2 separate regions of the Homo sapiens genome follow, and region 1 is linked to region 2. Evidence: promoter capture Hi-C in 16 types of primary human blood cells and fetal thymus (Javierre and others, 2016). All regions are on one chromosome and are shown on one strand. The core of a region is centred on a gene start or on the middle of the fragment in contact, and the rest is flanking DNA. Distances in the headings are between cores, read along the strand shown. Region 1 holds the start of BET1 (Bet1 golgi vesicular membrane trafficking protein). Region 2 holds the start of MTERF1 (mitochondrial transcription termination factor 1).

What was found. The method cuts DNA at HindIII sites, captures the fragments that hold promoters and counts their contacts. A CHiCAGO score of 5 or more calls a contact.
Region 1: a contact is called between the fragment with the promoter of BET1 here and the fragment with the promoter of MTERF1 in region 2, in 4 of 17 cell types (total CD8 T cells, naive CD8 T cells, non-activated CD4 T cells and 1 more). The highest score is 9.7, in total CD8 T cells.

Annotation. Positions count from the first base shown.
Region 1 is chr7:94,003,061-94,005,760 of GRCh38, reverse strand. BET1 (Bet1 golgi vesicular membrane trafficking protein) reads left to right here and starts at 1,406. Exons shown (of 4, transcript NM_005868.6): 1 at 1,406-1,563. The coding sequence starts at 1,545. RefSeq lists enhancers at 840-1,469, 1,480-1,529, 984-1,589, 1,590-2,196. The HindIII fragment of the contact is 1,547 bases long and covers 729-2,275 here.
Region 2 is chr7:91,879,361-91,882,060 of GRCh38, reverse strand. MTERF1 (mitochondrial transcription termination factor 1) reads left to right here and starts at 1,359. Exons shown (of 3, transcript NM_006980.5): 1 at 1,359-1,404; 2 at 1,948-2,006. The coding sequence starts at 1,978. LOC112267986 (a long non-coding RNA gene) reads right to left here and starts at 1,259. Exons shown (of 2, transcript XR_002956514.2): 1 at 1,197-1,259. The HindIII fragment of the contact is 3,297 bases long and covers 603-2,700 here.

The DNA of each region.
Region 1 (2,700 bases), core at 157-2,656, 2.1 Mb before region 2:
ATTAGTTCTAGTAAATATTACCATATTTTCAAAAATAACGATTTCTACATTTCCATCAGCAAGCCTTCTGTAAGGCAATTTTTAAACGTTTTAATTATAGAACATGCATTTTTTTAACCAAAGGACTGTCACAGATTTTAAGTTATAAAGGGATACCTAGCTATCATTTCTTTTATTGAATCTCCATCTTTTATTTGTAATAATTGTCCCTGATATTATGCTTATTTAATTTCATTGCTTTTAGAAAATGGCGGTTTTATTTTAATGATTTTTTTCTATCAAAACACTATTGGATAAAGCCTCCTTCCCAGGTTAATAACTCTTATTAAAAATTGTTTTCATGTGTTTTTTACAAAAGCAACTTAACGCAGAGACTTATGCCAGTATTATAGTCAATGTTAATAATGTCCTGGGAAACTATGAGGAAACGCTAAATGATCAAAGATCACATATTCGGAAATCTCTAGTGTGGAGACGATTCCACTGCCATATATACAGCAGCAACAACAAAACCGCAGACACCCAGTGAATTTTGATCACCTACTGTGTATCAGGTTTTTTTGTTTTCCCTTCAAAAACCACGATTTCATCGTATTCTCACGATAAATCCTCTGAGATAAAATGAAATTCTAGGATTAACCTCGATACCAGTAACACCTCCAACTCGCCAACAAGTTTTAAACCCCTAATTGGCACACTGCCTTGTGTAAGCAGTATTTCAATAAGCTTTGTGTAAGTTAAAAAAAAAAAAGTGGGAGAGCGTTTAGGGGTCCTTTGGTCCCCATAACAACTAAAAGTCTTGGTTCTTTCTAGAAGTACAACAGATGCAGTAACAGGGAACTAACTATTCAGTGCCTCTGACCAGATCCCGCAGCCTTTCCTAGTCTGCTCTCATCTGAGCAGGAGTCCTACTCAAAGGAACCTGGTTTTCTTTCCTTTACTGGATACTACAAGGCACAAATCGGTTACTTCTGTGGGTGTCGGATTACTTGTTTGTAAACTGAGAAACCTGGACAAAGTTTTCTCTAACTTTCCCTGAATCGTCTCTGGAGGTGAGAGGGAGTTCGAGGCTAAATCAGGAAAGATACCCCAACCATCCTCTTGTGGGTGGGGAGGAGCAGATCTGCTGGGTTAAACTTGGTGGTCAACAAACTGAAAGCAGCGACCCGCGGGCTGCGAGCGGAACAGCGGGAACGTTGGATCAGAGACCCAGAATCAGAGCCGCAGTCGAAGCCGCCCCCTTTTCCGGACGCCCCGTCCGCTCCTGGAACCGGGTTCACATCACGCCCTCAGCAACACGTTATGCGTTGGTGAACTACATTTCCCAGAATGCCTTTCAACCTTCTTCCCAGGGCTCCAATGAGCGCCGTGGTGACGCCATCATCCGGCGCGGTGTTTAGACTCCACTGATGTCGTGGCGCTTTAGGGGAAGAAGTTGGTGTTTCGCTGGGCCCTGGTACTGAAGACGCGGTCCGGGTCGCCCCTAGCTGTTTCCTACTCACCCAAAGCCCCGCACCCGCCTTTTCTCTCTCTCCTCTGGCAGGATGAGGCGTGCAGGCCTGGGTAAGAAGAGGGCTGAGGTTCGAAGTTCGGGGCCCTAGAACCGGGAGCGCTGGGGCGCGGGAGGAAATCGAACCTGTCTTATGTTCCTGGCATTTGGTCCAAAAAACAGGATGTCTAGAGGGGATCTTTGGGGTCCATGTCGAGTGGAAACACACCATTTGTCCCAGATCTTTGGAATTTCCTTAAGTTTGAGTCAGATTCAAGTTTGGATGGTAGGCTAGAGAAAGTAGTGGACTAGGGGTGGGTGTGTACAGGTGGCATCTCAGTGGTCGAGTGTTTTAGTGTTATTGACTGAGCGTGGTTATGGACGCTGCTATGTTTTCCAAAGCCCGACTCCGGTTTCTGTTTCCCTACTGGCCCTGGATCTTAGTTTCTTCAGAAGCGGAATTTGAAGAGTGGGTGGTTGCACCCAAAGCACGCTAGTAATGGTCGTTAATCTGGTAACAGTGAGTTACAAAGGTAAATGTATGTGTCATTATTGTTAAAGGTCCTGGAACTGGAACTTCTGGGTCAAAGGCGATTTCTTAATCTGAACCTTGTGCCACGGTTAAGGCAGTAGAACGTGGTTAAGGTTTGGCGACTTAACATTTGATCTTTACCTTTGGGGTTAGGAAACTGGCTCATCAGCAAGAATAAGTTAGACACAAGGAATTTTAATGGACCCTTATAGTAACGCACAGCTACTAGAACGGCATTTTCTGGTTCTGAAGCTTTCTCTTAGGACACGATTTTTTTTTTAAAGAAGACCCCGCTAAATTAGAGTGCAGTATACTTCAGAAAATAAATGAAACATTTGAAAAAAGATATTACCTTTCTCAGTCATTATAAGATTGAAAAAAGAAAAAAAAAATCCCCAAAGTGTCAGATATTTAAAGTCAGTGAAAGTTGCCAATAACCGTAGACTTGTTTATTGATCAATAAATTGTAGTATGAGAAAGTTTTTTGTTTTTTTAATGAAGTTTTTATGAATACTTAGATCATAGAAAATGGGGCCAGGTAAATTGAAGAGAAAAAAAAAAGAAATAATTTTGAGCAAGTTTAGCTTTATATGTCTAAATGTTTTTCTTGTTCATCATCCTTAATACCAAAAAAGATTTATTGTGTGCTTGAGTAAGCTCTAGGTATACAGTTGTTTGT
Region 2 (2,700 bases), core at 110-2,609:
GCACTCCAGCCTGGCAACAGAGTGAGACTCCGTCTAAAGGAAAAAAAAAAAAAAAAAAGAAAAAGGAGAAAGAAATGGGATAAAGAAAATTCTTTTTCTTTCTTGAGACAAGGTTCACTGTGTCACCCAGGCTAGAGTGTAGTGGCACAATCACGGCTCACTGCAGCCTCAACCTCCCAGGCTCAGGTGATTCTCCCACCTTAGCCTCCCAAGTAGCTGGGACTACAGGCACCTGTGACCACGCCTGGCTAATGTTTGTACTTTTTGTAGAGATGGGGTTTCACCATGTTGGCCAGGCTGGTCTCGAACTCCTGGCCTCAAGCCATCCTCCCGCCTTGGCCTCCCAAAGTGCTGGGATTACAGGCATGAGCCATCGCGCCCGGCCAGAAAATTACATCATTAGGCTTGTACATGGAGGAGTTAGTAATGCCTGAAATTTTTCCTCTTTGTAGAATTCAGGGTCAATCCTGTTGATCCTGTGTTTTTTTAAGGACCAAATCACCATCGTCTCCTGAGGATAACTCGACAGACACAATTAATTCATTAATGTAGATATTATCTTTCTTTTGATGGTCACAGGAGAAGTGCCTTGAATTGAAGCTTTATCTCTTCCATTGTCACCATCACTAGGCAGGTGAGGCTGACAGGACCGCGTGGCTTAAGGCAACGCCTCGGGAGGGAGCAAAAATGCATCCACTGTGGAGATGAGGTTTCGGTTGCCTCCATTCTTTAAATAGCGCAAACCCTCACAATGTCAAAAGAATCATATTTGAATTCGAACTGCAAGTAAGGAAATCGAAGTATACTAGAATTGATTTCCAGCCTGAAGGCGGATGCTGAATTCAGACCAGCAGTGACACTCCAGGATTTCCACGGTAGTTCATTAAAGGAGGAGAATCTGGGACTAAACAGACAGAGTCTACACCCGCTTATCCTGCACCAAAAAACGCCGAGATGTTCATCGGCATCGCGTTAGTCACATTAGCAGCAGCAATCGCATTATCAAAAACTGCAACACGCATGTAAATAATAGCTACTTTTCCACCACGTGTCGTCGGCCGGCAGTGGATGCCCCCTGTAGGATCCCTATAAGATGCCTTACAGTTCCCCACGGACATCTGCCCAGGCGACTGGGAGTCCCAGGCCCCACCCCACCCTCCAAACCCCTTCTTTGGCGTTCAATACCCCGCGCTCACCGCGGTCTCTTGCTGCCCCCTGCCAGGCCCCTAGCGTCGGGCTGCGAAGGGCTGAAGTACCGCCACGAGGGGGCGCAGGACCAACGACATCACCTCTGCGCGCGACCCGAGGCCGGAAGTTAGTCTTTTCCACTTCCGCTCCTCCTAGCCGCTCCGGACCCCAGAGGCGGAAGTAAAAGCGAACTACAGTGGATGGGTGCAGTTCAGGGTGAGATTGGGAAGGTGGTGAGGCTGTGCTTTCCTTTCTTTTTGTTAAGAAGTGGGTGTGGGTGACTGCTGTACAGTGCAGCCCTTTGCAGATTTGTCTTTGGAGGAGGAAGAGGGATGGAAAGAGCCTTCGGTGTGGAATTACCTTGGTTTTGAGTTAAGAAAGACCCACCTGGGTTCGAACCCTAATGCTTCAGCTAGCGAAGGCAGGCTAGTATGGGAGCTCGGCGCTGTTTCAGATTTTGTAATTTTAAGGCTTATGCCTACCTTTTAAATTGTTGTGGGGAGTAAAGCGAGACAATATATATGAAGCACTTAGCTTTGGTACAAAACGTATTCGTGATTCCGCTACCTTTTCCCATCATATGTAGGCATGTACTTGCCGTTTTCTTTTCTGTATGTCTGAGAAATGTTGTTTGCAAGAGGTAATGCATCTCACGAGAACATAATGCAACGAGAACGTTAGCTGGGATCGATCTCTTATTTTGTATTAGGAAGGCCTGAAATATTTTGCCTTTTTTTTGTGTGTGTGTGTCATTTCCAGAGATAGCTGTTCTCCAGCCTTTCTGGAGGGATGCAGAGCCTTTCCTTAGGACAAACAAGGTGAGAAATGCATGTAAAGATCTCCAAACTTAGCTTGCTGTATCAAAAGAAGACCAGCTGGAATGTGGTATTTTAGGGCCAGTGATTAGTTATTTCCATTAACAGCCTTTTTAACAGGCCAGTTGTGGGGCAGAGGCGAACGTAAATCTTTTTTTAGACCCCTCATACTACAAGCATAGAAATTTTCAGTGTTTGTTAAGTTTGAACATTAGCCCTTTGGATAATGGTTTTGGTTAATTAAAAAGTCAATTTGAGAAATAGATCGAAGTCAATTTTTGAATAGGTACCATTTTTGAAATTTGTACGTGAGGAAAGTTGCTAACTTTCTTGTATTAGGCTATTTAGATGTTCATTTACCCTACTAGATATTATGAGTATTTTGAATGGAGATCCGTTGCTAAGAGTAAAGCATCATGGAGAATTTTGAAGTGTGACTTTTTTGGTACTAGAAACCGAAAAATAGATAAAGATAATTTGTATTTTCCATTGTTTTTCACACCAAAGGCCAGTTTTACTTGTTTAAATTTTTTCATCTGACTGCAAAGTAACACATATTCATTAAATAAAGTCCCAGTATTTCAGAAGTAGTACATAGCCTCTAATAATCTTTCAGAAATAAGTGTCATTCCACTTTCCCCCTCTGTATATATTAACGTCCCCCTCCCCGCCTTTAATATACATGGCATTATCCATA